Regions from separate parts of the Homo sapiens genome. Here region 2 is linked to region 1. The links are contacts of gene promoters, found by promoter capture Hi-C in blood cells and fetal thymus (Javierre and others, 2016). All regions are on one chromosome and are shown on one strand. Each heading gives the region's core, a stretch centred on a gene start or on the middle of the fragment in contact. The rest is flanking DNA. Distances are from core to core; before and after follow the strand shown.

Evidence for each region. The method cuts DNA at HindIII sites, captures the fragments that hold promoters and counts their contacts. A CHiCAGO score of 5 or more calls a contact.
Region 2: a contact is called between a fragment that was not itself captured here and the fragment with the promoter of CRTAC1 in region 1, in 1 of 17 cell types (M1 macrophages). The highest score is 5.3, in M1 macrophages.

What each region holds. Positions count from the first base shown.
Region 1 is chr10:98,026,519-98,033,585 of GRCh38, reverse strand. It overlaps CRTAC1 (cartilage acidic protein 1), which reads left to right and starts at 2,965. Exons shown (of 15, transcript NM_018058.7): 1 at 2,965-3,137. The coding sequence starts at 3,114. The HindIII fragment of the contact is 20,576 bases long and covers 1-7,067 here.
Region 2 is chr10:97,943,038-97,949,638 of GRCh38, reverse strand. All of the region lies in intron 2 of CRTAC1 (cartilage acidic protein 1), which reads left to right. Among named protein-coding and RNA genes, the nearest start is that of MIR3085, 70 kb to the right of the region's middle. The HindIII fragment of the contact is 279 bases long and covers 2,317-2,595 here.

The DNA.
Region 1 (7,067 bases), core at 1,716-4,215:
ATGCACAGAGAGAAATGGGAGATCTCTGGTATCTCTCTCTCTTCTTACGAGGACACTAGTCCTATTGAATTAGGGTCCACCCTTATGATCTCATTTTGCCTTAATTGCCCCTTTAAAGGCCTTATCTCCAAATGCAGTCACACTAAGGGTTAGGGCTTCACTATGTGAATTTGGTCCGGAGAGGCACAATTCAGTCTATAACCGTGTGCATGTGCCTCAAGAAAGCTGTGTTTGGGCAATGTGGGAGGACAAGAGGTCTCTCACGGGATTGGGGGTGGGGAAGGGCTGGAGCTCTGAGCAGACACTGACATGAACTGAGCAAATGGACATCGAGGACATCAGAGAAATGAGAAATTTTCCAACCAGGACTGCCTGGCCCACTGGGCTAAACCCTCACAAGTTCAAGTGCTGAAGCCAGATTGTATTCCCTGGAGCACTTCCTGGCTGGAACATCTCCATCATTTCCTGCATTTTTCTGTCCTTCCCTAGCACCTTTGGTCTGTTGTAACCTTACCTGGCTAGCTGCAGGAAAGTGTGAGATTATTACAGAGTTATTTTGCACAGAGCACCTATTCACATCTGGTTGGCTAATGCTGATAATTACCGTGCTGGTTACTAAATCTGTCGGGTCTGGGTGAGGTGAGGCGCTACAGCTGGGGCTGCTGTGCACAGCTTCACCGGAGAAGAGAGAGGTGAGAACAAAAACCAAGAAAGGTGTGCTCAGATGTTTGGGATTGAGTGAAACTGGTTAATTACCAGTCACTTGCTGTCTCCCTGAGTTGGAGTTTCTGGCTAAGGAATGCTCATAGATCAGACATAATATGACAACCTGCAACTTATTTCCACATTAAGAGGGTGGCGGGGACCAAGATGCAGAGAAAGTGTGGAGACAGTCTCTCAGGTGCCAGAGCCTTGGCCAGATGACTCAGATGCCCTCAGAACAAGGTGGTGGCATGTTCCAGCAGGGTGCAGAGCCAACTGGACTCCTTATGCAGAGAGCTGGGGATCAGATATGGCCTTGGGGGCAGAGTCTATTTGCCGATAGATGAAGGTTCTTAATCAGGGCCCTAGATTAAGTTTTAATGATCCACGAACCCTCCTAAAGTTGCATGTCAACATGTGTGTATGTGAGTGAGCATTTTTATAAGCAACAGATCCATAACATTTATGAGATTCTTGAAAGGTTCTAAAGGGTCTGTGATCCCCAAAAGGAGGGTGATTATAAACTACTGTCCTAGACCCCTGAAGAAACAGGTTGACATTGGACCGAGCCCCAAGAGACTCAGGGTTCCTAATGATCCTGAAAGTATACTCAAGGTGTGTGTGTGTGTGTGTGTGTGTGTGTGTGTGTGTGTGTGTGTAAATGTGTGTGTTTGTATATTTTTCTAGAAAAATGATTCAGTAATTTTTGCCAGATTTTCAAAGGGGCCCACAACCTTACAGGCTTGATGGGGGCTCAAAAAGCCAGAAAGTTTGTCTGTGCCTAGCTATTTCTTTTCAGAGGAAGATCACAGAGACCTGAAAACAGAGCCCAGACTAGGTCCTGGTAGTTCTGCTCAAAATCTGTGGATAACAGGGGCCAGAGGCTGGATGTGTGGCCCTCTATAAAAGAACACATTCAAATCATTCTAAGAGTCAAGGGCCCAGAAGCCAGACTAGTGGGTGATGGTCACAAAAGCGTCAACGGATGGGAAAACAGTCCTAGCTCCTTCCCTCTCCGATGGTGGATTCCCAAGTCTTTCTCTTCTGTGGCCCCTTTACCTGGCTTTCAGAAACCCAAAGACCTCACTCATGGAAGCTCAGAATTCATTCAATAAACACTGAGCGCCTACTATGTGCCAGGCTCTATTCTAGGCGTAAAATAAAGGATTTGCCTTCAGAGTGTGACCCACCAAGGCCAGTTTCCTGCCTGAACAGGGGTATTTTGAGCATTGCTGATCAAGTGTGTTTTTCTGGCGCTTAGCACCCCCATTCCCCTGGTCCAGAGAGGCAGAAACCATCCCCCCACCACCACCAAGGCAGCGGGTTGGGGGCGAGGAGAGGCGGGCAGTACCTGTGATCAAAGCGGTGAGGGAGGCTAGTAGGACGCAGGCGGCAGGAGCGGGTGGGCCAGGCCCGACTCGGCCACTGCTGGGGTAGGGACTAGGTGGGATGGGGTGGGGGCACTGCTGGTGGGGACGGGGTGGGGTAGAAGCGGCGCTGCCCGCAGCCGCCTGGGCCTCTGCGCGCCTGATCTCCGAGCTGCGCTCGCCCGCTCCCCGCCTGCGGGGGCCGTCGCGGAGCCCTGCTCTCCATACTGAGCAGTCCCCGGGAGGTGCTCGGACACGTCCCCAGGCTGGATAAAGATCGGCTCGGCTCTAGCTCCGTAGTCGAAATCTCGCCATCAGCGCGGCTCGCTCGGCCGCTTTGGCCCGGCCCGGCGACGCCAGATCGCTATCCTGGGGGGAAATGGGAAGGCAGTGCAGCCGCTCCCGCCTCCACCCTCGGTCCTGCGCGCAGGGGTGGCCGCGGGGTCCTGGGGCTCGCCGCCCTCCCCTCCCCCTTCGCGTTCCTTCCCTGCGCTGCCTCCCGAGGGACCCTCGCTTCCCTCCGGCCTGGGGCCCCCAGCGCCCAGCCAGGCGCCCTCTCCCCTCCTCGCCAGGCCTCGCTGCCGCCTGAAGGTTACGCGACGCAGTGGCGGGGCGCGGGGGGCGCCCGCCCTCGCCGCCGCCTTCGCCGCCGCCCACCCCAGTGGCCGCCGCGCCGCGCCGGGCCAGCCTGGCTGCCGGCTGCTGCCACCGCAATCCCGGCTCCTAAATCAGCGCGGGGAGGCGCTCCCTCCCCACGCCCGGCTCTCCGGGCTCTCGGGGCCGCGATTGGCCGCGCCGGCGCCCCCCACCCCGGGCCCCCGGCTCCAGCTGCCGCGCCATTGGCTGCGGGCCTCCGCCAGCCTTTACATAAGACCGGGCGCGCTCGAGTGGAGTTGTATAAAGCGAGCGCGCGGCGTCGGGGCGGGAGGCTCGAGGCCAGCCCGGGACCGGGGCTGGGAGCAAGCAGGCGGCGGCGCCGGCGGCAGAGGCGGCAGCGAGCGCCCGCTTCCCACGCCCCTAGGCGGCGGGGCCGAGAGCGGGAGGATGGCTCCGAGCGCTGACCCCGGCGTGAGTATCTGCACCGGTGCCCCCCACCCTAAGGCGGAGAAAGTTTCTCCAGCTCTGCGCGCCCCCCCGGATCCGCCCGCAAGGGTGGCGGGGACGCCGCCCGGGAACCCGGGAAGACTGGGATCGCGAAGGCGGCGGCTTCGCTCCTAACTTGCTGGGAGGCGCTGGACTCGATTGGCGCGCGGAGCCTCCCCCGCGGGCTGGGGGTGAGGCGGCGGCCGGGTTGGAGGTGGCGGAGAGGTGGGAGCTGATGTGTGGGGGCGACAGCCAGCAGCTGGCAGAGAAAGTGTTGGGGGCGCACTGGAGGTCAGCTGTCAGGGGAGGGGGCCTCTGGGGCCTGGAGGGGGCGGAGCGGGTGAGGAGGGATGTGCCGGGCTATCGGGAGAGTCTCCCAGTCAGCCAGGCTGAGACCCGGGCCTGGGAAGCCACTGGCCTCGGCCGAGTGCCTACGCTTCCAGGCTGGGGAAGAGCCCCGCGGGCTGGCTCTTCCTCCCCTGGGAAGCCGAGTTCCCGGGCACAGCGCTGGGTGGCAGAGAGCTCCGGGAGCCAGCCCCGCGCGCGGCGTAGCTGCTAGCCGCCTTATGCTGGACGAGGTGTGGTCTTCCCTTCAGGCTGCCTGAGGCAAGCCGGCTTCAGGCATTCCAGGGGAACCCTGAGTCCTCCTCGACCCCGTGGGGGCACTTGGAGGCTTTGATGGGGCAGCCAGGCCGGGCTTGGGGGCATGCCCAGCAATGCAGCGCGCTTCTTTGCAGTACAGTAGTTGGGAGCCCTGGTTAGTCCCGCTTCTGCAGAAAGCAACTCAAGAATCCAAAGTCATCCCAGCCTGGATGGAAGCCTCCCAGAGTGGCGGGGAAATTCTCCTAGGGTTGAGAGCTGGGGGGGCTTCCTCCAGGAATGACTAATGAATATTGCTGCTGCTGCCGCCGCCGCCGCCGCCGCCGCCGCCGCCGCCGCCGCTGCTGCTGCTGGTGGGTGCACCCAGTGTGGCTTCTGCACATCCCAGGAGATGCTTCCGTTCTCCTGACAGGACACATTCTTGAGTTGCACTTGAGGTGTCTTCTGGGATGGGTGCAGGACTTTCCACGTGAAGCCAAGTGGAAAAGAAGGGAAGAGGGTCCCAGGACAGGGGACAGTTCTATAGTGTTTTCTTGAGTCAGGGGAGAACTCATGTGGGAAGAGATAAGCGATTGACGGAGATTTGGAACCCAGACGACTTGGGGCTGGAGATGTCCAAGACTGAATTAGAGCTCATTGAGAGTCACAGAGTACCTCACCCTCAGCCATGGGGGAGAGGTGGAGGCTGGAAAAGTGGGAACATGGTGGCTGTTCCAGCATGGTTCTTGAGAAAATGTTCTCTCTCTCTCTCTGACTTGGTTAAGAACATCCTTCTGGCAGTAGGTCCTAAAGTCAATTTAAGAGGTAATGAAGGGAGTTGAGGGTCTTGATGATGGCACAGAGGACCACAATTAGAACATTTCCATTTCCGGTGGGTACTAATGGACTCTGGAAAAGGTCGAAACGGTGTGTAGGGAGTCTGGGGAACCTGCTCTGTGGCTGCTCATTTGAGCCTGAATCCTCCACCTTATCCCATCCCTGAATGTAGGTGGATGTTCAAACTCCTAGGGTACCTGCTTCAGCCTGGAGATATTTTATGGGTGCTATCAATCTATATCCCAACCCCCAGCTCCATCGTTGTCTGCTGCAGTCAACATTTTTCTGCTGCATTTCCCAAGACCTTCTCTCCACTGGGGATTTGTGCAGCGAAATACCTGCTTGTTGCTCTTTCTTCCCTTCTCCATCTGGGCTGCACCTGGTGTTCTGAACCCTGGTGTTTATTCCTTGGTACCTTGATGTTTGGTTAAGACGTCCTATGGCTGCGCAGGGGTGCCCCTGTAAATCTGTGGACCAATGGCCTGTGTAATTCTAGGGAGTGCAATAGACTTCTATAGAAAGAATACCACCAACCGGGAAGGCAGTCCTACTAAACAGCTTGTGACAGCCTCTCATGCTCAAGCGCTCCCTTGCTTCCGTGCTGAGGCGGTGGAAGCCTAAAGGTGGAGCAGACTCCTTGGTGTCCAGTAGGGGGCGCCAAAGGTACCTGGCTCAGGACCACTGACTTTCTCACTTCTTGCCCTTTACTGGCTGTAGCAACTTAATGCTTTAAGGCAGCTCAGGCTACAGCCTTCAACCACCACCATCGTACTTGGAATCCTTCTACCACATGCTTCCTGGGCTTCAGGTGGTCCTGTGACCTCGGGTGCTATGGGGCAGGTGCAAGCACAACATTCCAAGGAGACAGAGCTGGTACACAGCCCCACCCTCTCTCGGGGATCATTCCTTTGTGCTTGGTGCCGCTGTGTTCTTTGAACTCTTTAAGGGTTCATGGAGTTCCAGAACATTAGAGCCAGAAGCAAGGAGCCTTGGAGAGCATCTCATCCAACCCCATTCCATCCCAACACTCACATGCACATTTAATTTACAGATGAGAAAACTGAAGCTGGATAAAGCCAAGGTCACATGGCTATTTGGTGGAAGACATGGAACTAGGCCCTAGGATTCCCACTGCTCGATTCAGAGCTGTTTCCACTCCAGCGGCCTGCTTCCTCTTCACTATAAAGATGGACATACTTTCTCTATACAGTAGGCACTCATAGTTATTGACTGACCAGGCTTTGGTAAATTAATACATCCCATACAGTTGGGGAGATTCTATTTTGAATCTGTTTTTCAGAGTGAGGAGGTGAGGAGAAAATACAGTTCTTGTCATGGACATACACAGGTCATAGAAATTCCTAATTATTCTTTCCCTGCCTCTACAATCTCGTCTCATTATTCCAAGTGGTGTTTTAAGCAAAAGCCATGCAAGTCCAGGTTTCAGTCTGTGCATTTAGGAGTCAGAAGTGCCGAGTCCCTCACTGTGGTCTTGGAACCCAGGTCTGGAGCGCCAAGGAATGTTGGCGTGGGGTCTCTCTGCTTGCAGTCACACCACTGCTGGTGAGACCTCCCAGATTCAGATTATAGATGGATTGGAGAGTTTCCAAAGAGTATTTGCCTATTTCCCCCACCCTTGCTGCTCCCAGCTCAAGGTCAGAGTGCTAGGACATTCTATTTTTGCCAAATCCTTATGTTTGGACTTCTTCGGTGACCTGCAAGATACTACCATTTCCATTGCCCTTTCTTCTGTTCCGAGAGCCTGGCTGTCGACATCTGAGCTGGGCTCTGGGAAACAGGTTTGCTGAGTGGCCTGTGGGCGGCCCCCTTTGTTCTCTTTTTTTTTTTTTTGAGACGGAGTCTCGCTCTGTCGCCCAGGCTGGAGTGCAGTGGCGCAATCTCGGCTCACTGCAAGCTCCGCCTCCCGGGTTCACGCCATTCTCCTGCCTCAGCCTCCCGAGTAGCTGGGACTACAGGGGCCCGCCACTACGCCCGGCTAACTTTTTGTATTTTTAGTAGAGACGGGGTTTCACTGTGGTCTCAATCTCCTGACCTCGTGATCTGCCCGCCTCGGCCTCCCAAAGTGCTGGGATTACAGGCGTGAGCCACCGCGCCCGGCCCCCTTTTGTTATTATCTCCCCACCTGGCTTCTTTGCACACTGGATGGACTTCCTCCTGGTTCTCCTTGGAGCCTCAGCAGACTCGGAAGCCTACCCTCGTAAGAAACCCACTGCTGCCAAGCCAGAATTCTGAGAGGCGGAATCCTCTTCTCTCCCTAAGACTCACGAAAGGGATGCTTGTTGCCAGGGAAGATGCTTGAGTCCCCTCCTCTCCCTCATGCTCACAGAAGATGAAGTTGGAGCTTCATCTTCAGCGGGAGGAGGGAGGTGCAGGATCACGTGGACCACCGGAGAGGAAAAGCCCCTCTCTTTAAACTGGAGTCTTAAGAGGCTATGCTTGAGATCTCACCAGCTCCTAGCTTTACCTGGTGAAATGAGC
Region 2 (6,601 bases), core at 1,207-3,706, 83 kb after region 1:
TTCAAGTCCAGGGCTCTCTCCGCCACTCTGTGCTACCCCCACAGAACTCACCTCACTCTGGAGAGCAGATGCTTCTGCCACCTTTACCAAGACACTCCGTAGGGTTGGGGGAAGGCAGCCCTTGTCCCGGATCTTAAGACCCTAAATGCCTGCCCCACATTCTGCATGGCTGCCTTCCCTTGTTCCACCCCAGCTTGGTTCCCTGAGACAGCCCTGCCTCTGTTCCACCTCTGCCTGTGCCCTTTTGTCCAATTTGGCTCCCTGGCCCTGCCCAGGACTCTCTGCACAGATTGCTCCCCTCCTGGTGCAGGGTCTGTCTTCTCTGTGGGACCAGGGTCCCAGCACCTGCTCACAGCAGCTCACATTCCTTGAGTTGGCCTGACATCCCCCTCTGAGGTGGCTGATCCTTCAGGCCCTGTTTACCATGGCAAGTGGTCATGTGTAAGTCTCTCACTTGCTAATCTAGCTTCTCCTTCAACATCTCTTGCTAATCCAGCAGGCTGCTGCACTGTGACTTCCACACTGTCCTCTCAGCTGTGAACCTAACCCTAGCTTTCTGGGTGTGATATGGTTTGGCTGTGTCCCCACCCAAATCTTATCTTGAATTGCAGTTCCCATAATCTCCATGTGCTGTGGGAGGGAATTGAATCATGGGGCGGTAGTTACCCCCATGCTGTCTTTATGATAGCGAGTGAGTTCTCACGAGATCTGATAGTTTTAAAAGGGGCTTTCCCCCACTCCTTGCTCTGCACTTATCTCTCCTGACGCCATGTGAAGAAGGAAGTGTTTGCTTCCCCTTCCTCCATAATTGTAAGTTTCCTGAGGCCTCCCAAGCCATGCGGAACTGTGAGTCAATTCAACCTCTTTCCTTCGTAAATTACCCAGTCTCGGGCAGTTCTTTATAGCAGCATGAGAATGAACTAATACAGGATATTACTGTCTAGTTGCTCTCTTCCACCTCATTCTATCTTCTTGCCCATCCTGGCTTCCTTTCCTCTTAATTCCAGGCCCAACCCATCAGCTGGTACATGACACTCTGTTCTGCTGACCTACTGCACACCCTGCCTAGATGCCTGCAGCATCCACTGCCTCTCCTAGGTCTTTTCCTCTTGCTCACAAACATGCACAGTCCCAAAGCTTGGTGAAACCCTTGCTTAACCACGTGTCCCCCAGCACATATCTTAGGACTTTCAGAGCACTTTTTGTCCTAAATGACCCATCCACACTGTGGCCCCATCCACTCCCATGCACCCTCCTCAGTCTAGCTCTCCTCTCCTCTCCTCTCTAAGGAAACAGCTTTCTTGAAGGTTATCAGTGGCTTCCAAATTGCCAAATACACTTGCTTTTTCCAGTCCTTGGCCTTTTTGACCCTTGAAAGCATCTGACACTGTTGGCTACCCCTCTTATTTTAACCCTTGCCTTCCTGATTTCTGTGCTTTTTTGACTCTACTTTGTCTTAAGGGTAATTTACTTATTATAAGGAACAGAAACCTAATCACATTAGCTCAGAAGAGTTTTTTTTTTTTTTTTGCAATAATTCAGGGAATGCCATGGAATCCAATTGCCATTATTCTGCACTATCATTTCAATTCTCTTCCTTGGCCAATCCTTCATGCATACCAGACAATGATCTCCAAAACATTGTTTTGACATAACAGTATACCCTGCACGGAATCCTTCAGTAGCCCCCTATTTCCTAGCAAACACAATCTTCATCTATTTCTTAATTATTATTTTATTTATTTATTTTTAGAGATGAGGTCTCACTATTTTGCCCAGACTGATTTCAAACTCCTAGTCTCAAGCGATCCTCCCAACTTGGCTTCCCAAAGTGTTAGATTACAGGCATGAGCCACCATACCTGACCCAGAAAATATAAATCCTTAGTTTCATGCCACATCTTCCACAATCTTAGTTGCCCAGTACACCAAGACCATGCTTCTGTCTTTAAGTTCCCCCAATTAAACATCCTTTACCGACAATCTGTATCTGTCTACCTCATTCTTTTATTTCTCAGCTCCTTTAACATTTGGGGAATGCTTTGCATATACAGGCTTTTCACGGAACGTGTACTTTTCCAATTTGCTTTTCACTATTTTTCACTTCTGTCCAACACACACTTCTATGTTGTCCAGCTAGTCTACCCCGTATTCCCTAAACATATTTTTCTGTTCCTTGCTCACACCATTTCTTTCATAAATGCCTGACCCATATGTCTCTTACTAAAATCCTATACATCCTTCAAGTTCCAGATCAAACAAACCTTTATTAAAACTTTTACCCCAACAATTTTTGGCCCTCTGCCCTCTGAAAGCTTGGGATTGGGACCACTCCTTATTTGCTATACTAGGCTGGAGACTCTGAGCAGAGAATTACATCATATGCCATGTGCGTCCATCACAGTACCTCGCGGTGTGCCTGCCTAGAAATAGGATCCCAGAAGGGTGGAATGAAGTCAATGCCTGACTTATCTTTTTACTCTTAAAGAAGAGTGAAGCATTCATTGGCTCCTTGCCCCAACTATTCTGTCCCTAAATTGGCCTACCTCCTCAACTGAAAGAGAGATAAAGACCAACAGCTTTTTAGCTAGAAGCTTCTGGGTAGTTATAGCATGAAGGAAAGAAAGTTTGAATAGATATTTAAAGTGTTTTGTGACCAAGCAGTTAGTGATTTGCCTGAATCCACAGCAAGTGGGTGAGCTCTGGCCAGACTCTGGGATCCACTTGCTGATCTCATCGCTGCCAACTCTTAGTGTCCTCGAACCAGACCGTTTCGAGAACCTAGTGACTCAAACATTGTTCCAATTTCTGTGTTTACTTCTTTCTGGGGCTTCTGGAGGGGAATAGGGGGCCCTTGAGATGTGTCTAGAGGACACAGTGACTTGGTGGTCCCAGGGAAGCATTTGTTGTCTTCCATCAGGAGGCCCTGGTAGGTTTGTCTCCAGAATATGCAGACCCAAATGAGTCACTGTCATCTAAAACCACATCCTTATCCTTCCTGGCACTTCTCTTCCTGCATATAGGTGGATCCCAAGATGCCACTTTCACTGGCCTTGCTACTAGTTGAAAGCTACCAACCACAGGCTCCCAGCTCTTGCCTCTGGAGATGGACAGGTGACCCACCCTGAGCCAATCAGAGCTCTTTTCTGGGGTTTTTTACATGCAAACTGAGGAGAGAACACAATCTCCCCTCTGGTCCTGAAGCTGAGATGTGAGTCTGGGAATGCTGCCATAGTTGAAGTCTTGGGAAGGAGGATCATGTGAGAGAATGAGGTCCATAGGCAGAGAAAAGAATGAGAAAGAAGGAAAAGGAAGTGCTGACCACATCCTGGTTCCAGTCATCCAGAAGCCTAGCTGCACTTTTGCTGTTCCTGCAGTTTGGACATTTAAGCCAATACATTTCTCAACTAGTTCACTTGCAACCAAAGAATCCTGATTAACACAGCCTCCATCTGTCACCTGAATCCCTTCTTTGACAGTTTATGGGAATTCCTGACTCCCTGTCTTCTTCTTTTCCTAGAAACATGCATTGAGAAATGGAGTTATGGTCTTCGTCATCATCAGCAAACATGACTGAGCACTTGGTCTTTCCTGGCACTGGGCTAGGTGTGATGGGGAATAGAGCTGCATAGGATAGTCCCTGCCTTCTGTGTGCCTCTATGCTCATGAAAATATAAGAAATTCCGAGGGCATCGAGCACATGCTGAGCACAGATCTTTTTAAGAACAAGGCCGAAATCAATCAGTCTGTGTGGAGTTTTTACAGAACACAGACACCATCACTGCAGATTATTCTGACCTTTTGGTGCCAACCATCCCTTTCTTGAAAAACCATCTGCCCCTTAGGACAAAAGGTTTTTCTCTTTTTTCTTAAAGTTACCTTCTTCAGTAGAGCACTCTATTTGTGGAGTCTTCTCCACTCTGGCCAGCTCCTAAATCAGGATCAAATCTGATTTTGTTATTGTTATTTTTCCAACCTTACCCAATTTATTCCCTAGCGGAACCCTGCCCCAGATTTCTCATCACGCCCAGAACCTTCCCATTACCAAAGTCTCTATTCCTTTAAACTAATATATGGCCTCTGGATATATCCTATTCCAGGATACATTCTGTGAATCTCCTGTTTGAATGTCTTCCCATATGTTTTCTGGTCCTATTTAACTTAAATGGCTTTCAAAGAATAAAATGTGTAAAAACAAACAAAAAAAAGAGCATTACACACATTTCCAAAGAAATGATCTATTCTCAAGAGTGTGCATTCAAAATGGGAAACATTTAGATATGGTTAGAAAGGAAAGAAGAAAGAGAAAGAGGAGTAGAAAAACAGGAGTTTCTGGGATCCCTGTATTCTTATTACCCTTCCACCCTCGGGCTCTGCACAGACCTTCCCATATCCTCAGATCCAAGTACCAACACAACTAGTCCAGGCCTCCCTTGGGGAGACCTGCCTACTGTGAATTCAAATAGCCATCCTAGAGAATTCCACTGATTTATGAATAATCCTTTTTCCTACTTGCCAGAGATAAATTTTTCCTCTCCTTAGATCTGAGATGATAGGTCATCATTATCTACTTTCTTTTCTGAAAACTTAGGGGCTTAAAAACAATTTATTATTTTTCACTATTCTGCCAATCAGGAATTTGGAAAGGGCTCATCTGGATGGTTCTTCTGCTCCATGTGACATCAGCTGGTGTCACTCACTTAGCTGCATTCAGCTGTCAGTGAGCTAGGCTGGAAGATTTGAGAAGTTCTTGCTCACATATCAGATGCCTTGGTGCTCTTTCACATGGCCTCTCCATAGGGCTAGCTTTGATTTCAGAGCATGGTGGTCTTAAGGTAGCCAAATTTTGTATATGGTAACTGGCTTCCTCCAGAGACTAAGTGGAAGCTACTGGGCCCCTTGCAGGCTAGGCTCAGAACTGCTCCAACATCACTTCCACCGTCTTCTGCAATCAAGGCAAATCACAAAGCCAGCCCAAATTCAAGGGGAGGAGAAATAGACTCCATGTCTTCATGAGTGGAGTAACACATGCATACAGAGAAGAAAGGAAATGATGGTGACCATTTTTAGAGACCATCTACCACAACCTTTTTACCCCCTCACTTAGAGCACAAATGCTTTTGCTCATTTCTTAGCCTTAGATTAAATCCCTGTTTAGAGAACACTGTTGTCATTTTAAGCAACTCTTTTATCATTTTTTTTTTTTTGAGATGGAGTTTCACTCTTGTTGCCCAGGCTTGACAGCAATGGGGCGATCTTGGCTTACTGCAACATCTGCCTCCCCGGTTCATGCGATTCTTCTGCCTCAGCCTCCCAAGTAGCTGGGATTACAGGGTGTGCACCACCACGCTCAGCTAATTTTTGTATTTTTTTTAGTAGAGATGGGGTTTCACCATGTTGGCCAGGCTGGTCTTGAACTCCTGACCTCAGGTGATCCACCCACCTTGGCTTCCCAAAGTGCTGGAAGTACAGGCATGAGGCACTGCACCTGGCCCTTAAGCAGCTCTTCTCAGTTTCTTTTTCCCCCAAAGGTTATCTTGCCTTACAGTCGCCATCCTAAGACCTAAAATCTTTCATACATTTAACCTTCAGTCTCCCTGAAATACTTGCTTCAGGAAACTATGTATTCCCAAGTACTAAGCCCAAATTAATTTTTACTAAACCTTATTCTAATTTTTTGTTGTTATGATAATTATCATTTAAAATTTGTAATATACTCATACTATAAGGCTGACAATCCTGGAGACCAGGGATTGGCAATCTTTTTCAGTAAAGCGCCAAATGGAAAATATTTTCAGCTTTTGGCCATACGGTCTCTATTGCAATTAATCAACTTCAATATTTAGCAAAAGCAGCCATAGATAGTACATAAGTGAATGAGTATGTCTGCATTCCAATAAAACCATATTTACGAAAATGGAAGCAGACCATTTGGCCCACAGGCCATAGTTTGCTGATCCCTGCTTTAGACTAAGGGATAAGTTTGTCTTTCCATTTATTTTATCTAATGACCAGCTGTTTGACTTTAGAAGTCACTTTTCTCAGAAACTTTGTGTATCTATAAAATGAGAGTATCAAAGTGACCAACAATAAAATACTCCTGTGTGCCCATAGTTGTGAAAATGCAACACATTTTTAAAAACGTTTAGAGGAAATGCCCCAAGTGGCCACAAGATGGAATTATTTCTCTATGATCATATCTCAGAGTCCTGTTGATGTGTCCATGACTTCGAGACTTTCTAGGGGTCTCTCCATTTGTCTTTGTAGATCTGCAGATGCCCTTTTTCATGTGGCTCCCTTTATATGGGTAGGTGTCTTTACCTCTGTATCTATGTTTACTTAAAAGGTTTTAGGTATGCTCTGATATCATTTTCTCTGTGCTTGTCGGCTTCCTCTTCCCTTTTTGTATATTTCCTCATTTCCATTTTTGTATATTCCATGTGTCTCTGGTCTCGGTCTTGCACTCTTTGTGCATTCATACATCTCTCTCTTCTTTCTGCCCTGACTCTCTATCTTGACTATACTACTGAATAGATATATTCTTTTCACTTTTCACTTTTTTTTTTTGAAGACAGGGTCTTGCTCTGTTGCCCAGGCTGGAG